Regions from separate parts of the Homo sapiens genome. Here all the other regions are linked to region 1. The links are contacts of gene promoters, found by promoter capture Hi-C in blood cells and fetal thymus (Javierre and others, 2016). All regions are on one chromosome and are shown on one strand. The core of a region is centred on a gene start or on the middle of the fragment in contact, and the rest is flanking DNA. Distances in the headings are between cores, read along the strand shown. Region 1 holds the start of LINC02880 (long intergenic non-protein coding RNA 2880). Region 2 has its middle 110 kb from the start of LINC02518. Region 3 has its middle 350 kb from the start of LINC02518. Region 4 has its middle 150 kb from the start of LINC02518. Region 5 has its middle 300 kb from the start of LINC02518. Region 6 overlaps LOC105377955 (a long non-coding RNA gene). Region 7 overlaps LOC107986636 (a long non-coding RNA gene).

Region 1 (2,700 bases), core at 120-2,619:
GAGCAGAAGTGTCTGACCCTCTGGCCTTCTATGAACCATTGGGACCCACACACAACATGTCAGATCCAAAGAGCACTGGCCTCCGAACATGGAAGTAGGTGGGCAACTGAAGGAAAGGTGAATAGTGAGAACAGGGGAGGGGAGGACAAACGGAAGAAGGGAAGGGCCGGGAGATAAGACATTGACATGTGCAGTGAGCTTAGCTGGGCATGGTGGTGTGAGACTGTAGTCACAACTCCTTGGGAGGCTGAGAGGAGAGGGTCGCTTGAGCCCAGGAGTTCACATCTATCCTGGGCAACATAACGAGACCCTATCTTTTAGAGAGAGAGAGAGAGAGAGACCAGAAGTCCTGGACATAGCCAGGCTGTGGGCAGCCCACGGATGAGGTGAGATGTCAATGTGATCACCCCTGGAAGTGAGAAGGAAGGTACGGTGGGGTTATTGAATACACTGTGTCATTCAATTACTGTCATCGTTTGGATTTTATATGGGATGGGGGCTGGGAATTCCTGGTCTACTTGTGCTGGAGAGATGTTTAGGCTTTCTCAGATGGTTAATAGAGGGCACCAGCAGTTGTTTGGTGGCATTGGAGGAGCAGCTTTTTGTATCCCAAATGACCCTTTTCAGATAAAATTGAAGCTGGATTGAGACTTCGGGAGGATAAGTATAAAGTTGTAAGTGGGTGGGATAGAGAACAGCCATGCGAATGTCAAATCTCCTGTCTTTTCACTCCTGTCTTAGGCCGAATGTGAGGTGCCCCGTTCTTTCCTTTGGTGGAGCCTTTGAAGATTTTTCTTTTCTTTAAAGCTCACTTAGCAGTTAAAGACTTGAGATGGGCTGTAAAGCTGTGAAAAGCCTGGGAGGAAATGGTGTTGACATGAAGGGGTAAAGCCAAGCTTGGAGGGGTGCCAGTGGCAGGGACCCACACTAATTCCTCTTGTTCTTATGCCCTTCTAAATATGTCTCTGAAGCACAGGAGAACATTCCTAGGGAAAAACAACGTCCACTCACCTCATTCCAAGAAAATCTGTAACAACGTCCAATTGTCTTTGAGAGGAAAGAAGATGACATTGGGAGACACAGCATCTAGAGGAAAAGCGAGAACCACTGGTCTTCCTTTCAGACTTCACAGTGGGATCTTGGCGCCTCGGATAAACAAAGGCACTGGCAGGAAGGAAAGCGAAAATCAGAGGAGAGGTCTGGCAGGCCACAGCCAGAGCAGAGGCAGTGGGTGAGAAAACCCTGGGTTTGAGGACCCTGGTTCTCTTCCCTAACAGCCTTTGGGTCCCTCTTTCTGAAACAAGGCTTGAGAGCATGTCCTCTGGCCTGGGGGACTTGGGTGAGTCTGAGGCACCCCAGGTAGCAACGATGGCAGGTTTTGCACTTGAGCTGGGGAGAAAGCCAGTGGTGCTGAAAGCAATGGAGATTGAGGTACAGAGATCTTCCTGCCGAACCCATTCCCAGGCTTTCTGCCTTTCTAGGAATGGAGAGAGAGAGAGAATGCCTTGGCTGGTTTCCTGAAATCCAGTTCATGGAGCCACAGCCCCAGTGAGTGCTCACTCAAGAAACAAAGGCTCAAGAGAGGACAGGCACCAGCTAGGAAACTCCACTCCGAAAGGGATCAGCTGTTGCACTCACAGGCACACTGCTTTGGTCCAGGAAGTCAGTAAAAGGCAAACAGGATCCCAGCGAGGTCATTTGTTTTGGAGAAGACAGAGGGAGGAGGAGGGAGGGGCAGCCGTGTGAACGTGCAGTTATGTCAGGGCCTCCCCAGATCCCTGGAACGTCCTGCCTGAGCACAACAGGGAAAACCTCCCCCTGCTCACTAGCCCTCGGGAAGTACAGTTCTCACTGAATGTCTGTCAGCATAATTAAAAAATGAACACCCTTCCAATCGCAAGATCAACGCCAAGGGTTACCTTCCTGGGGAGCTGTCCAGGGGGAGCATGGTTTCCTAAGAAAACTTTTGTGATCTGTGTAGAATATTTTTGCCCCTATTTTTTTTTTTTTCTTCTGAGACAAGATCTGGCTTTGTTTCTATCAGGACATGTTTGGATGTTCTTCCAGAAAGTCTACTGGTAAGAGAGCTCAGTTGGTCTTCTAGGAGAGATAATTGTTGACATATCAGGGGCCAAAGGCTCATCTCTTCATTCCCTGCACTTGGGGAAGAGGTGGCATCATTTCACCCTTAGAGCACAGGATAAATATTATGATTATTCAAGCAAAAAGACATTCTACTGGCTACTTTTGATTTAGCATTACAGTTTCTAATTTATCCCAAAGATGCACTGACAGAAATGGAAAGATGTATTCACAAGGCCACCTATCACAGCACAATTTGTGTATTAGAAAAAACTCAAATGTCCATCAATAGGGGACCCTCAACTATGGTACATTCACACAATGCAGTAGTACACAGCTGTAAAAAAAAGAAGAAGAATATCTCTACATGCAAGTATGAAAAGATTTCCAAAATATATAGTTGATAAATATTAAGATATAATCGTTAAAACTCAAAACAAAATGAAAAAAGTCAAACCTAACTAGATATTGAGTTGGTGGCACATCCTCTTGGGAGAAAGTATTTCAAGTGACATTAAAACCTGGGAATTGACTGTAGACCTCAAGTGGGATATACCCTTAGAACAAAAGGAACTGCAAAAACACACACACACACACACACACAGACACAAACTTCAA
Region 2 (2,722 bases), core at 210-2,709, 580 kb after region 1:
AGATGCTGGATATTAGGCCTTTGTCAGATGCATAGTTTGAGATACTTTTTTTCCCATTCTGTAGGTTGTCTGTTTACTATGTTGATAGTTTCTTTTGCTGTGCAGATGCAGAAGCTCGTAAGTTTAATTAGATCCCACTTGTTAATTTTTGCTTTTCTTACGATTGCTTTTGGGGTCTTTTTCATGAAATCTTTGCCCATGCCTATGTCCAGGATAGTATTACCTAGGTTGTCTTCCAGAGTTTTTATAGTTTTGGGTTTTACATTTAAGTCTTTAATCCATCTTGAATTTATTTTTGTATATGGTATAAGGAAGGGGTCCAGCTTCAATCATCTGCATATGACTAGCCAGTTATCCCAGCACCATTTATTGAATAGGGAGTCTTTTCCCCATTGCTTGTTTTTGTCAGCTTTGTCAAAGATGAGATGGTTGTAGATGGCAGCCTTATTCCTGGGCTCTCTATTCTGTTCTATTGGCTTGACTTTGTTTTAGTTATTTCTCTTTTTTTGAGGTAATACCTAGGTCCACAAGTTTCCCTTTGAGTGTTTCTTTATTGTTTCCCATAGTTCTGTTATGTAGTGTTTTACTTATCATGTTTCCTAAAAGTGCTGAGATTTTGGTTTATATTTTTTCTGAGAAAAATTTTTTCAATGTCCAGGTGAAAGGGCCTTTTGGTTTTCAGTTTTTGTTATTTGTGTCTTTTTGTGTGCATTGTAATTGAGGAATATTGTCTATACTATTTATCCTTTTATAAATTATTGATGTTTTCATATGTTCTGATTTTTATTCATTTTGTAATTGTTTCATGGACTCTTAAAAAAACATTCTCCATTTTCAGGATGGTGTTTGAATTTTATCAATAAGATAAACTACTTCAATTATGCAATTTAGGTTTTCTATAAATATTCTTATATTTTGTTAAGGTGATTGCTAGAGACTTAAAAGCAGGTGAACTAAAGACCTCTTCTATTAGTTTTTAAAAATCTATTCTCTATTTTTTCCCGAAATTTGTTTCATGAATATTGATGATATATTACTTGGTGGAATGTCATATCTCCACCTTAAATTATACTCTTCAGCATTATAAAGTGCCATTATTTACCTTGTTAATTCTTTTTTGGCTTACATTCTACTATTAAGATTTTAATCCTTGCATCTTTAGTTCTCAGTTGTCAAAGTTTGTCTATTCTTTTGTTTTTCACCTTTCTAAATCACTTTGTTTTAGGTATATTTCTTTCTAATTACTTAAATGGACACACCTTCTTGATTCTACTAACAAATAAATAATAAGTCAATTATAAGTACAATTTGTTTTTAATGGAAATATACACCAAAATGCCTCACTTCTCTGCCCCAGATGTTGTATGTGTGATACAGTGCTTCTAAAACCTTATCATGCATTGGAATTATCTGGGGGCATGTTAAAACACAGATTGCTGGGCCCCACCGCTAGAGTTTCTGATTCAGTAGGACCGGGGCAGGTCTAAGAAGTTCGCAGGTGTTGCTAATGTTGCTGTTACGAGGATCAGATTTGGAGAACCACTGGTACGATAAAGTGGAAAGACTAATCCTATTGATCTATGCCAAATTCAAAGACACTTTTGCTCTTCAAAACATCAGTAACTCGAGGAAATAAGAGTCAGAGTTAATTTTGATAATATCTACTTTGATAAGAGGAACAGAGCCAAAAAAATAATAAGGAAGGGGTGTGTTTTTGATAACCTCCAAGTTTTTTATTTTAAGAGCTTACAGTCTTCTTGTTTCTGAGGGTCTTTAGCTCAACTGGATTATAGATGTTATACTGGCAGGCAGGGCCAGTTTCATGGCCATGGGACCTGTGAAGTCACACTTGGTTTAATGCTCTTCTGTCTCTGTCTTACAATTCTTAGTATCTGAACAAGAGGTCCTCACATTTTTGTTTTGCACTGGACCTCACAGATAATGTAGAAATGTCCTTTTAACAGCAACTGTATTTCACTGACATATTCCCAGTGCCTGGAAGACTGCCTGGCATGTATAAGGTGCTAGACAAATATCTGTTCATTGGATGGATGAATACTGTACCCATGGTCTCCTAAGAAATTGGATAAATTATTTAGATATAGAACTGTGGTTCTTAAACTTTAATACATATAAAAATCTTCTAGGCTAATTTAGTTTTGTTAAAGTACAGATTCTAGGCCCCAGCCCCAAGGATCCAAAATTTAGGTGGTATGAAGTGAGGCCTGATAAAGTTGTATTTTAAAATAATTATCTTCCATAATATAGATGCTGACAGTCTTTGATCCGCAGTTAAAGGAAAACCCATATTGAAACAGAACTAAATGACTTTAATCTTGGTGACCTCACCTGGTGGTTTGCACCTACCTTTCACCTCTGGGGTAAGGACAGGAGCACATTCATCTAGCTTACTCTTCCTTGTCCTCCAAAATTCAGCTCAGTAATTATTTTATCAATAAAATTTTTCTTGACATTGTATTTCCTACTTCCCTCAGTTATTCTTTGTCTCTGTTTCAATCGTGTAGTGGACATTCATCTTTTATTATGCCTCTCAGCAGTTTTTTCCCCTTCTGGCTGTAACTGTACCCTGAATTTCATCTGGGTACCATCTTTTCCCTCTTTCCCAGTTGCGGTGCTCTAAGCAGAGTTGGTTGCTCCCCTGAATCAGAGTCCAAACATGGCTATGTTTGGTCAATTAGAGCATCGCATTCCCCTCATCATG
Region 3 (2,700 bases), core at 98-2,597, 820 kb after region 1:
TAAAACTGGTGGTCTTTTTGTATTCTAAAAATTTACAAGTTACAGTAAAAAATCTTTTTCAAAAATTTGCAAGCTAAACTTATTTTTATTTCTTGATATCGCATGTTATCTTTATTTAAGTTGTCCATGCCTGATCAGGCTTCACAAATTCTCTGTTAACCATTCAAGAAAGGTGGTTATTTAAATATTACTGAGCGACAGCAGTGCCACATGCTTGGTAGGTACTTTGCCAACAATTTTATACTTAGTCTTTGTTTTTCTTGAGGACCCTGTGCTATAACATCAGATGTTATTAATTTTAATTTATAACACATTAACCTGCTTATCCTGCCTCTAAAGTGACACAGCGTTAAAAGTGCATTTCTGAGGCTATTCTTAAGAATTTGAATATAATTATTACAGCTATCTCACATTCTATAAGAGTTTCAATATCACCTATTTTCAAACTAAGTTACTATATTGTTTAAAAGATATAGATTATCCTCCAGCCCCTGACTTACATGAGAAGACATCTATAGATATATACAATGTGTTTGTTTATAAAGAAAAATTAACATTTTCACCTAAGAAATATTAAAAAAATAAAATCTATCTTATTTTTAATATTTAAAACTTTTTAGACCATCAAGTTATAATTATTCTATAAAAATCTGAGAAAGGTTTTGCTAGTAAAAGTATATTGGAGCATAACAACAGGAAATAAAATGATTCTACCTCACCTGCTGATAAAACTTTGCTTTGTGTATATTATTAATAGGAATAGGTCTTTTTCACTGTAAAGTGATGTAATTGGCGTACCCTGAGAGATCTGATCGAAAATCCTCAACCAAACCCACATTGTGCTTTCACAGAGGGTGTTCTGGAGGATCCATCACAGACATTTTAACAAATTCACAATATTTTTGTTTTATGTAATTGGTGACTTACATAAGTGATTATATTGTACCTTTTATTAATACATTGACCAATAAAATAATTAGAGGCTACTTTTAGCGCATCTTACCTGGCCGTGCTGAAGAATACATTGTCAGTCATTCCAATTTCTCTTCCTTCCTTCCTTCCTTCTTCTCTCTCTTCCCTCCCTTCCTTCCTTCCTTCTTCTCTCTCTCTTTCTGAATAAACATAACATATACATATATATATAAGCAAAAAAGATACTAAATCAACTATCTAAGAACATTCATGTTAATGGGATTTTTAAGTATAAATTTAAACTGAGATTCATTTTTTATATTAAAATAACACTCAATAATTTTTGTCTGTTCAAATTCTGGTTTAAGAAACAATCAAATATCTTTTCTGTATTGAGTCAGCATCCTACGAAGTTTTGAAGCAACACAGAGTTTATTTTGTATTCAGTGTACTTTATATTTGAAAATGAACTCCAAACTATGTTTATATGCATGTGGTAGGAAAGGATAATATTAAAAAATTGGATTAATCCATAATTTCTTAACAACCGATCTAACAGTATTGGTACCAGGAAAGGATTCTGCTGCTAGCAAAGCATCTAGTGAGTTGTTAGCACAATGAAGTGTGTCCACACTTAATAATGCCAAGGCATATTGATAGGAATATCTTCAGCAAAATATTAAAAGAGTGCATTTGGTTAATGAACAAGAAATTTATTTGTGCACACTCTCAAACTTAACCTTCATATTGTGCCCTTAAAGTGACACAAGCATTAAAAGTGCATTTCTGAGGTTATTCTTAATAATTTGAACATAATTGTTACAGCTATCTCACATTCTAAAAGAGTTTTCAATATCAATTATTTTCAAACTAAGGTACTATATTGTTTAAAAGATATAGATTATCCTCCATCCCCTGACTTACATGAAAAGACATATGTAGATATATGAAATGTGTTTCATATATCTACAAACTTTTTTTAAATTTTGTTTGTGGCATGTGGTTGGATATTTATGGAAAGAATTAATTCTAATCACCAAAAGGACTTTCAAACCTAATGACATTCAACTTAAAACAGAATAATGACAAAGTTTCTCATGTAAACTCAAGAAAAGTTTGTCCTGTCATCCCGAAATTATCATAATGGAATTTCATTTTACCTTTTAAAATCTCACTCTGTAACTCACGGGTTAATGCCAAAAAGTTTTCGCTTTGTTTTGTTTTGAATTTTCATTTATGTGAATTGCTGAAGTTTGCGAAATTCAGAAGGAAATCTCTGCAGTACAGATTTTGTTAAAAGATTTCCAGTATTTCCTGCATCTGTTGGGTGGAAATGGTACCCAATGTCACTTTTACAACTACTTCAGTGAAAAACAGAGGTGGAGAGAATCTAAGTTTAAAACAATGGAGAAAAAATGTTGGTTATTTTTAAAGTTAACAAATGTGTTTCAAGCCTAGTTCCTGCAAAAGTTGAAATATTGGTTATTTCTTATCCTATCTGAATTCTTTTAGTCCCTTATCCCTAAGTTGAAAGTAACTTCAAGGAGGTAATTTTAATTTCTCATTACATGTGCATTCACATGCCCTCTCTTAGTTTCTAGCAATTTCAGCTTCCAGGTACTATTAATTTTTCTATTAGTCTATAAACCATAGTTAATTAAGAAAAAAATCCTGTTTTATTGTATTACATTACAAAGCCATTGTCATTTCAAATAATTTTTAAATGCAAATACTTGGAACTAGAAATTAATATGGATAGGTTCATAAATATTTTCTAAACCTTTTAAA
Region 4 (2,700 bases), core at 18-2,517, 620 kb after region 1:
AAAATCAGTGACCTAAGTTTCCACTTCAAGAAACTAGAAGAACAACAAATTAAACCCAAATTTAATTTTTAAAAATAAATAAAAGGATAAGAGCAGAAATTAGTAAAATAGAAAGTAAACAAATAATGAATAATAAAAATACAATCAACATCTAGTTACTTTGAAAGATCAATAATGTTTGTTGTTGTTGTTGTTTTTACCTTAAGTTCTGGGATACATGTGCCGAATGTGCAGGTTTGTTACATAGGTACATGTGTGCCATGGTGGTTTGCTGCACCTATTGACCCATTCTCTAAGTTCCCTCCCGTCACCCTCCATCCCCCAACAGGCCCTGGTGTGTGTTGTTCCTCTTCCTGTATCCATGTGTTCTCATTGTTCAACTCCCATTTATGAGTGAGAACATGCAGTGTTAGGTTTTCTGTTTCTGTGTTAGTTTGCTGAGAATGATGGCTTCCAGCTTCATCTGTGTCCCTGCAAAGGACATGATCTCTTTCCTTTTTATGGCTGTGTAGTATCTCATTGTGTATATATACCACATTTTCCAGTCTATCACTGATGGACATTTGGGTTGGTTCCATGACTTTGCTATTGTAAATGGTGCTTCACTAAACATATGTGTGCATGTGTCTTTACAGCAGAATGATTTATATTCCTTTGGGTATATACCCAGTAATGGGATTGCTGGGTCAAATGGTATTTCTGATTCCACATCCTTGAGGAATCTCCATACTGTCTTCCACAATGGTTGAACTAATTTACATTCTCACCAACAGTGTAAAAGCTTTCCTATTTCTCCACACCCTCACAACATCTGTTGTTACTTGACCTCTAATAATCACCATTCTGACTGGCATGAGATGATATTTCATTGTGGTTTTGATTTTCATTTCTCTAATGATTAGTGATGTTGAGTTTTTTTCATATGTTTGTTGGCCACATAAATGTCTGAAAGATCAGTAATGTTGACAAATATCTAGCTCAACTCAGAGAGACAGAGAGAGGGGATATATAAATTACCAAGATCAGGTATGAAAGAAGGGACATACATATTAATTTTCCATATATTTAAAGAATGATAAATACTATGAATAACTTTATGCTGATAAGTTTGACAGCTTATGTGAAATTAACAAATGCCTTTAAAGACACAAAATTACAAAAGTTATTTAAAAATAGAAAACTGAATAGTGTTTACCAACTAAACATTTTCAATTTCGTTTTAAAAATCTTTCCCGAAGAACATCCCAGGAACAGATAATCTTACTGCTGAATTTTATCTAATATTAAAGGAAAAAACAACTGAACAACTGAAATTCTATATATTTTTTTAAATAAAAGGATAATACTTCCTAACTCTTTATCTGAGGCTAGCATTTCTCTTATACCAAGGTCAGACCTGCACATTATAAGAAAGCAAGCAACAAATTAATATTCCTCAGGAATGCAGAGAAAAAGTCTTTGATAGTAACAAATCCAGCAACATTTAAAAATAATAAATTGTGACAAAGTCTAGTTAATCCCTAGATTATAAGGTTGGTTTAGCATTTAAAAATCACTCAGTAATTAATCAATTAACAAAGTAAAGGGGAAAACCATGATTATCTTTATAGATGCAGAAAAGGACATCTGACAACATTCAATACTCATTCACGATAAAAATTTATGAACAAGTTAGGAATAAAATGTAGTTTTCTCACCCTGATAAAGGGTACTTTAAAAATGTCAGCTAACATACATAATGATGAAAGCTTGAATGCTTTCTCCCCCCAAATTGGGACCAAGTAAAAGGATATCTGGCCTTACCACTTCCATATAACACGTTGCTTGCTTTCCTAGCCATAACAACAAAAGAAGTAAAATAAAAGACATACCGATTGGAAAGGAAAGAGTAACATTTTCTGTACTAACAGACAACATGGCCACATATAAACAAAATCCTAAGGAACCTACAAAAAACCTGCTGAAATTAGTAAGGGAATTTAGCAAAATCTTAGAATACAAGGTCAATAAACCAAACATAAAAATCAATTGAACTCATAAATATTTGCATTGAACCACTGAAAAATAAATTTTAAAATATTTCATTATTAATAACATCAAAAACATGAGATATTTAGTGATTAGTTTAATAAAGTGGGGGACAAACCTGTACACTGAAAACTACAAAAGATTACTGAGAGAAATTAATGAAAACCTAAATAAATGAAAAGATATAACATGTTCATCACTTAAGAGGACTCAATGTTGAGATGTTAATTTTCCCTAAACTCATCTATAGAATTAATATGATTGCAATCAAACTCCAGCAGACTTTTTTTTTTAAAAGAAATTGACAAACTGTTTCAAAAATTTATTTGGAACTGCATTGTTAATAGTTTTGCTACATGGTTTTCCTGATGTTTCCTGCACATGCCAAAGAACTGCTCCCCATCCTCAATTAGGTATTAACCAGGCAGGAATCCTCTATGGAATTAATCCATGTGAATAGTGAAAGAGATTCACAAAGATGCCAAATATATTTACATTTCATAATGAGATAAATTGGTGGAATTTTAAGAATGTGACAGACTGACTTAAAAATTTTGGTGGTATGCATATGATCTGTTTACCCAGGGAGATGCCACCATCTACTAAGGTTATGGTAGGTTGAGAATGTGCCACAAGGGCAACCCCTCTGCCGGCATTTCTCAGCAACTTAGT
Region 5 (2,700 bases), core at 93-2,592, 770 kb after region 1:
TAACCCTAGCCCCCTAACTCATTATTTCTTTCATCCTATATACTTAAGTAACTTTAGGTACAAAAACAATTGGTCTTAAATGGTCTCACATCTGTGAAGCTATGTCTCATTCAATACAGTAATAAAATTGAAGCTGTTTTTCCACTGCCAACTATCTGCTTGAGTTGGGGCCTCCTGAATCTTATAAATGATTTGTTCCTCTTGTGACATTTATTGTTAGAGACATACTCTCTTTTCACCTTTGCTGAAAAGTGCTGTGTTGGCAGGCAGTGTTTCGGGAGTGCAGACTGTACTTTCCTTTCCAGCTCACAACAGACAGAGGAAAGGAACGTGTCTTCCTGCAGCCCATGCGGCCCTCCTGGTAGGCGCTCTCCACAGCTTCAAGGCTGGCCACCTGGGCCGGCAGCCCGGTTCAATAGCTGGATATCCTGTTCTGCTTTTCTGCTGTTGAGCTGTCCAGGATGATCGCCTGGGAAGTGAATTGTGACTTTCCAGGGTTTTAAGCTTGCCAAGATTAGTTAGGAAAACACAGTTTGGGGTTATACAAATTCCACATCTTCTGGCACTCTTGTTGCCTGAAATTTGAGAGAAGGAAAAAGTATTTGTGGGAGTTGTGAACCTAAGTGTGTTCAAAAGCTAGGGGTTTTTGTTGAAAATATTTAAATTCTCAGAATATATTTTTATATGCAAGCCAAGGTATACTACTGACATTTTAAGAAAATGGTCCCATTAAAATGTACGGTCTGCTGCCCCTGTGCCTCATGGATGAACATGTGGAGATTGTTCTTGCAGTATGGCATGACAAATACTGAGGGTGAAAGTTAAAAGACATCTTTCAGGCTTGCTTGAATATTGAGTGCATTTAAATTTTAGAGGAATAGTCTTAATCTGGAATTTTCTTGATGTTCTAGGAGAAACAAAACAAAACAAAACAAAAACAGGAGAAAGTTTGTTCATATGCCTCCTCACGGGCAATCCTGGTATTTCACACACAGGTTCTACTGAGGAAATTTTTTTTTTTTTTTTTGAGACAGAGTCTCGCTCTGTCGCCCCGGCTGGAGGGCAGTGGTGCGATCTTGGCTCACTGCAACCTCTGCCTCCGGGGTTCAAATGATTCTCCTGCCTTAGCCTCCTGAGTAGCTGGGATTACAGGCACCTGCCACCATGCCCAGCCTCCCAAAGTGCTGGGATTACAGACATGAGCCACCGCATCCAACCTGGTGACATGATGAGTTTTGTTATTCATACCATATTAACATCGAGCAAATGTCACCTTTGCTAATGTTGCTGTTCTTAATCTATTTCCTTTCATTAAAGAAACTTTAATGAAGGAAAGACTTGGAAACTATTTAAATCCATGGTTAACCATATTGGTAGAAGAAATTGAACACACATGTACATAAAACACCCACACATGTATATGCTTATTATAACTAAAGATTGAATGTTAACTAACATTAACCCTCACCATAAATGAATCTCCAATCTGCTCTTTGTTTTGCTTTCACTGAAAAGAGAAGACAGCTCTGTTAACAACAGAGAAAGGAAGACCACAGCTGTGCATAAAATCAAAATATGAATAATGATATTTATTTTCAACTAGACTTTGAACATCCACACTCTGAGTTTTGGATGCTTATTGCTTTAACAGGAAAGATAAGTCCTTTTATAAACTACTGCAATCACAGAAACTTACAGATAATGGTAGCAGAATGGAGAACTTGTTATAGGAATAATATAAGACATGTTTTTCTGATATATGTGCACACGAATGTGTGCCTGTTTGTACACATACACATTTAGGAAACAGTTTCTCACAATTCAGATGGAGCTTTTAGTAAACCTCATGCATAATTTGAATGACAGGATATAAAAATTCATTTTTGGCAAGAGCATCTTAGAAGTTTATATTATACACAACTTTTCAAAAGATACACTAAAGGTTGATCTGAAAATTAAATTTTGTTTCCAATGTATTACAATCTCAGTGCAGTTTCAAGTTGAACTATGTGAAAATATTGTAAAAATAAATTACTTTAGAAAACATTTAGTCTGTTCAGTCTTTCACATTAAAATGGTAACTTTAGTGTAAAAAAAAATGGAGGCCAATATTCCAGTCCTAGAAATAATTTTTTGAAGTTTGATGTTAGTAAATAACCATTGTTCCTCTTCAAGCTTGTGAAATGTTAAACACTTTGTTCTCTACTTAATTTTACCTTTCATATTCTAAAACTAGGATTGGCAAAGTGAACCGCAATGTTTCAATGAAGATTTGGTTATATAACTCACATGTAAAAATGCAGACTTCCAAATTAATACCATCCTTTAGTGAATGCTTGGTTTCTTGATGAATTTGATTTTTATATACCTCTTAGAATATCAGTCATTCTGATTCTGACTTGGCACGGCAAAAGGTGAAATAGTGATCCAGAAGAGCAGGAAAGTCCTCCCATAAATATCCTCCAAGAGCATCTCCTTGAAATTGCTTGGTACAGAATCATAACACATGGCTGCAGGGCGTGGGTCACAGGTGGTAAAAAAGGGTGATGTGTTTTCTGTATTCAGTGATAAATTCGTTTTCTTTCTTTCTCTCACTCTCAAGATGCTTGTGCAAATGATTTTAGAATCATGAAGCTGTATACAATGCTATGCATTCTGATTATTGTAAGCTCTGACATCTGACATCAATGATTTAACTTT
Region 6 (2,700 bases), core at 100-2,599, 720 kb after region 1:
GTGGAGGGTCCACTTTTTGTAGGGTAGCCCATGGCTGCTAGGAGAGGTATTTTGTAGCATGTGTGGACTTGGTTTTTGTGGCGTGAAGAGAATGGGTATAACACTGATAACTTGCCAAGAGAAGCCTATTTTATGGTGCTTTTGTGATAAGTACAATGGTGCCATCTATTTGTGACTGATATTTTTTAATGGAGTTGACTGTTCCTGAGTGGTCCGAGGACAAAAAGAATAATGTAGCTGGGCATCATTTGCACATTTATTTACATGTCAGGGCTTTTGTTCAAATTGTGACTGAAGTCTATTTGTAGAGTCAGGCATAACAAAGTAAACCTCATTGAGATTCACTTCAGGACATATCCAAACAAACAACATCTTCATTCTGAGCCCATCCAAATGTCTGTAATTTGGTAAATTACTCATTCTATTTGAATGCATTAGTCATCATTTATGAATGCCAGTGAAATTGAATGGACTTCCCTCAAAGCTCTATAGAACTTTTCCATCGTGCTGCAAATGCCTGTTTTTAATTTTTTTCAAGACATATTTTTTGTTACATTTTAAATTTCTGGCTCATATGCCAAATAAGCATCCAAAAAAATAAAGAATCATGTCGAAATAGCTAAATGGGTCTTTGTAAAATGACTTTTTTTCTTTAGATTTAAGTAGATTAAGGTCACATCACAGTATGTGAAAATGCATAAACCTTTGTAATCTTCAGGTTTAATCTTTACTATGAAGTACTTTGGGAATGTTAGTAATCTTCAACATAAACAGCTGTCAGAGGGAATCAAATAGGAAGTGTTTTAAGGAAGACAATGCCTCAAGTGCTAACCCCCTTGAAATTTTTTTTTTTTTTTTTGGAGTGATGAAAGCTTTTTCTTGAGTATATTGGTTAATAGCCAAGAAAGATGGGGAACCTTGAACAGAAAGACCATACAGAAATTTTCTGATGCTTTGACATTTTACGTTTTCTTTAAAATCAAATGGCTCTAGTAACACAGCAAAAAGGGGAATATGACATTTTGACATTCATCAGGTATCTGTGGTACTTTTAAGTTATATCGATTAAACTTTCCTATCCCAACAATTTTTTTATCTGCTTATGGAAGCTATCAGTCTTTATAATGTATTGCAAATGCGTGATGAAGACTGAAGATAAAGAAAAGCTGACCCTTGAACTTCTGAGTGTATTTATGTAATTTCCTAAATTTTGAGTAATCTTGGCAAAAGAGATGTCCTGAGTTCTTTTTTACATTTATTTAAGGCAATGGTATCTATAAACTATTATTGCTCAAATGTCTAGGATTCTTTTAAATGTAAAAAGGAGTGGTTCTTCTTAGGAAAGGATGATTTTAACTATCTTTGAAAATTTCATAAATCAAGAGCAGATTTGTAAAATAAAGTGTTAACAAGTGGTTACAGGTTTAGTTTTCCAAAGATAAACTTTTGTCCTTCTTATTTTGTGTCCCAGAACCTTCCCTATTCTCTCCATTGTCAATGCTGGTTTTTCTAAGAGGAAAAAGCTGACTATTCGTTTAGAATCTCTGTGCAAGATTTCTTGTTAGATTGATCCATTATATTTCAGCTGTGTACATGCTGCCCACCTTCTCCATGCATTCCTTGTATTTTAAATCCTACAGGGCTTTCTTTCAATACAGGAGATATGTCTCCCTTTTAGTTATTTAGACTTGAGGATGATTTGATTCATGAGGATGTATATACTTTGTGTTTTTAAGTGTGTGTGTGCAGCAAATATTTATCAGTGTGCCGTATTTCATCTTGAAATTGAAAGACTAGATCATTCTTGGAAGGGATATTAAGCTTCCTTATGCAAGCATTTTTGCACGCTAATGCTTCAAGGCCCAGAAAGAAAAGGGAATGAATAAAGTGGTTGTGGGCAAGTGGCTAGAGAGCACTTGCCTTGGCTTAGGGCACCAGTATCTATTCAGCTGCAGTCAACTGCAGCCACGCAAGAACAGTCCCAGTGTTGTTCAACTATCCAGGTTTACAAGAGTAGTCAGAAACTTGGATTTTCATTTGAAATTTCAAAATATTTAAATGCTAGTAATTAATTTTAATTAAACACTGTGTGAGCTAAACAAAATAAGTTTATGGGTGCTCAGTGTGCCAGTTCTGTAAAACAGAAGTTATAGCTAAAAAAGAAAATGCCATACCATAGTTTACTTACCAACTTTACTTAATAGCTATGTAAAATGTTTAGAAAAGAAACATAAATGTAATATGCATACTTAGATAACATGTTTGTTAGAAATATCTTGGGTAAGGGAAGAAATTTTCTTTCCATCTACCCATGCCATTGATGAGTCTCTGGTTCAGAAAACTGATTCCATTCAATACCACCTACTTCCCCATCCCAGCTCCCATTAATACAAGTATAGGGACTTAACATTTCCTCAATGCCCACCTCCTTGCTTGCTGTTCAGGGAAATACACATTTTGGTTTATGGATGTCCTGGGGTGCTGTAAGAGTCAAGGAAGTTATTGAAGGACATTTTTAGATAATAGACAGCATCAATCATGCTGGGCACATACTGAGGAAAGTGATGACAAAGAAGGGACCTATCTGCCCAACAAGAGCAGGACCTTGGAAAGAATGGTTCTCTGTCTCTTTGGCCTTAATGTACAAGGAAAAAATGAGAGCTGGAAAGTTTACACATGGCCCTCAGATTTTAGGCAGTG
Region 7 (2,700 bases), core at 118-2,617, 840 kb after region 1:
TCAAATTTTTCCCACTTCTCACATGAGTTTTGTGCTTGAATTTACATAAGTAGGCTGAGAAATTAACACAAAAATGTAGTTCTAACCACACTAAGTATTGGTGATAATATGAAAGGACTGGAATTCTCTTACACTGCTAGTGGGAATGTAGAATAGTACAACCACTTTAAAAACTAATTTGCAGTTTAGTGAAAACTTAAATGCCTGCCATATCATCTAGGCATTCCACTCCTAGGTATATATCCAAGAGCAATAAAACATAAAGGCACATTCACATGAAGGCTTGTACATAAATATTCACAGCAATTTTATATGTAAGAGCCTCAAACTGGAAAAAAATGCAAATATCCATCAACAGGTTAATGCATACGTAAATTGAAATACATCCATTCAATGGATCATTCATTCACTATCACACAGAAAATAAAGGAATAAACTATTGATACAGACCACAACATGGATGATTATAAAAATCTATTTGCTAAATGAAAGAAACTATACAAAAGTAATGCATATGATATGATGTCATGTGTATAAAATTCTAAAAAGTGTAAACTAAATCCAGAAATAGAAATCACACTGGTAATTGCCTGGGGCAGGGGTAAAAGGAGGGATGGGATGGAAAGTAGTACAATTAAACTTTAGGAATAATAAAAATGATCATCTTAATTGTCTTAAAGCATTCACAGGTGTTTAGAGATGTCAAAACTAGATACAATTGTATACTCTAAACAACTTAAATTTATTATACCATAATCAAATTAAGTAAATAAACAGACAAATAAATAAATGTTTGGGGAAATGTAAGCCTTAGGAACCTAATTTGCATCAATCATTTAAAGTAGGTTACATTCACAAAAGATTAAAAATAGGGCTACCATACGATGCATCAATCCCACTGCTGGGTATATATACAAAAGAAAGGAAATCATTATATCAAAGGGATAGCTACACTCCCATGTTTGTTGCAGCTTTGTTCACAATAGCCAAAATTTGGAAGCAACCTAAGTATCCACCAACAGATGAATGGATAAATAATATGTGGCACAAATACATAATGGAGTACTATTGAGATATAAAAAAAGAATGAGATTCAGCCGTTTGCAACAACACAGATGGAACTGGAGGTCATTATGTTAAGTAAAATAAGCCAGGTACAGAAAGACAAACATCACATGTTCTCACTTATTCATGGGATCTAAAAATGAAGACAGTTGAACTCATGGAGAAAGAGGGCAGAAGGATGGTTACCAGAGGGTGAGAAGAGTATTGGGTTGTGTTGGCAGGGAGATGGGGATGTTTAATGAGTACAAAAAAATATTAGAATAAATGAATAAGTCCTAGTATTTAATAGCATGACAGAGTGACTGTCATCAATAATAATTTAATTGTACATTTTCAAATAATTAACAGAATATAATTGGATTATTTGGAACACAAAGGATAAATGCTGGAGAGGATGGATACCCCATTTTCCATGTTGTGATTATTATGTATTGCATGCCTGTACCAAAATATCTCACATACCTCATAAATGTATACACCTAATATGTACCCCCAACAAACTAAAAAGAAAAATTATAAAAAACAAACAAAATATAAGTTACATTCATAAAACATATTGCTAATTTAAGAATTGCTACTAAAGCTGGATAAATAGTTGTCACATAAAACTTGAAAAGGTAATTTAAACTTCATGGCAAAAAGAAAATATAAAAAATAGACAAAGGAGAATAAAATATGTATTGAGAGGTGTTTTTCCTGCAAAAATCAATATTTATTTTTAAGTTATCTTAATTAAACCACTTACTAGATATTATAGAGCAAGACAAATAAAGCAATGTAACAATGTCCTAAAACACACCCATCCAGGTGGAACAGATGTATATCAGATTTATGTATAGACTATATATAGCTGGCCCTTCTTATTCGTGGGCTCTGCATCCATAAATTCAACCAAATGTGGGTAGAAATATTTGAAAAATACTGTGTCTGTAATGAATGTGTACAGTCTTTATTTTCTTCTTGTTATATCTAAATGATATTGTAGAACAACTATTTACATAGTATTTACATTGCATTAGGCATTGTAAGTAATCTAGAGATGATTTAAAGTATATAGAAGGATGTGCATAGGCTATATGCGAATACGCCATTTTATTTTATATCAGGGACTTGAGAGTCTGCATATTTTGTCATCTGTAGGAGGTTTTGGAACCAATCCTCCATGGATATCAAGGGACAACTGACCCAAATACATATATGCACATACATACACACACAACACACGTGTGCACACACAAACACACAGCCAATGTCTCCTGCCCCAGTAAAGATATAACAAGGGATTATTACTCAGAAAATATAATTAACATCTACAAATGAATAAGCAAACGGCAAAGAAGTGAATGAAAATAAAATAAACATGGGAGCAATTTACAAAAGAAGAAATCTACATGGCCAATAAATGTGAAAAGTTGCTTAATTTTGTAAGCAATCATAGAAATTCAATTTAAAACAAAAATTAGGTGCATGAGACTGATGAAATTTTTTGGAAATATCACAAAACTGCATGCTGGCAAAGAATTGTCATGTTTATGGTAGCAGAGTAAATTGATACAACCTCTATGGGAAGCAACTTAACAATATCTAGTAAAATTAAGATTTGTATGTCTTAAAATCCAGAAATTCTATTTCTAG

What was found. The method cuts DNA at HindIII sites, captures the fragments that hold promoters and counts their contacts. A CHiCAGO score of 5 or more calls a contact.
Region 2: a contact is called between a fragment that was not itself captured here and the fragment with the promoter of LINC02880 in region 1, in 2 of 17 cell types (neutrophils and monocytes). The highest score is 6.3, in neutrophils.
Region 3: a fragment that was not itself captured here is called in contact with the fragment with the promoter of LINC02880 in region 1 in 1 of 17 cell types (neutrophils); the score reaches 5.2 in neutrophils.
Region 4: a contact is called between a fragment that was not itself captured here and the fragment with the promoter of LINC02880 in region 1, in 2 of 17 cell types (neutrophils and M0 macrophages). The highest score is 8.2, in neutrophils.
Region 5: a contact is called between a fragment that was not itself captured here and the fragment with the promoter of LINC02880 in region 1, in 2 of 17 cell types (endothelial precursors and neutrophils). The highest score is 5.7, in endothelial precursors.
Region 6: a fragment that was not itself captured here is called in contact with the fragment with the promoter of LINC02880 in region 1 in 1 of 17 cell types (endothelial precursors); the score reaches 5.5 in endothelial precursors.
Region 7: a fragment that was not itself captured here is called in contact with the fragment with the promoter of LINC02880 in region 1 in 1 of 17 cell types (neutrophils); the score reaches 7.6 in neutrophils.

What each region holds. Positions count from the first base shown.
Region 1 is chr6:113,903,056-113,905,755 of GRCh38, reverse strand. It overlaps LINC02880 (long intergenic non-protein coding RNA 2880), which reads right to left and starts at 1,369. Exons shown (of 4, transcript NR_027060.1): 1 at 1,012-1,369. The HindIII fragment of the contact is 3,143 bases long and covers 899-2,700 here.
Region 2 is chr6:113,322,557-113,325,278 of GRCh38, reverse strand. No RefSeq gene overlaps it. Among named protein-coding and RNA genes, the nearest start is that of LINC02518, 110 kb to the left of the region's middle. The HindIII fragment of the contact is 9,773 bases long and covers 1-2,722 here.
Region 3 is chr6:113,078,516-113,081,215 of GRCh38, reverse strand. No RefSeq gene overlaps it. Among named protein-coding and RNA genes, the nearest start is that of LINC02518, 350 kb to the left of the region's middle. The HindIII fragment of the contact is 7,020 bases long and covers 1-2,700 here.
Region 4 is chr6:113,281,551-113,284,250 of GRCh38, reverse strand. No RefSeq gene overlaps it. Among named protein-coding and RNA genes, the nearest start is that of LINC02518, 150 kb to the left of the region's middle. The HindIII fragment of the contact is 967 bases long and covers 784-1,750 here.
Region 5 is chr6:113,135,335-113,138,034 of GRCh38, reverse strand. No RefSeq gene overlaps it. Among named protein-coding and RNA genes, the nearest start is that of LINC02518, 300 kb to the left of the region's middle. The HindIII fragment of the contact is 1,671 bases long and covers 507-2,177 here.
Region 6 is chr6:113,180,579-113,183,278 of GRCh38, reverse strand. All of the region lies in intron 1 of LOC105377955 (a long non-coding RNA gene), which reads left to right. The region is part of intron 5 of LOC105377953 (a long non-coding RNA gene); the gene reads right to left. Among named protein-coding and RNA genes, the nearest start is that of LINC02518, 250 kb to the left of the region's middle. The HindIII fragment of the contact is 949 bases long and covers 875-1,823 here.
Region 7 is chr6:113,061,915-113,064,614 of GRCh38, reverse strand. All of the region lies in intron 2 of LOC107986636 (a long non-coding RNA gene), which reads right to left. Among named protein-coding and RNA genes, the nearest start is that of LINC02518, 370 kb to the left of the region's middle. The HindIII fragment of the contact is 4,715 bases long and covers 1-2,700 here.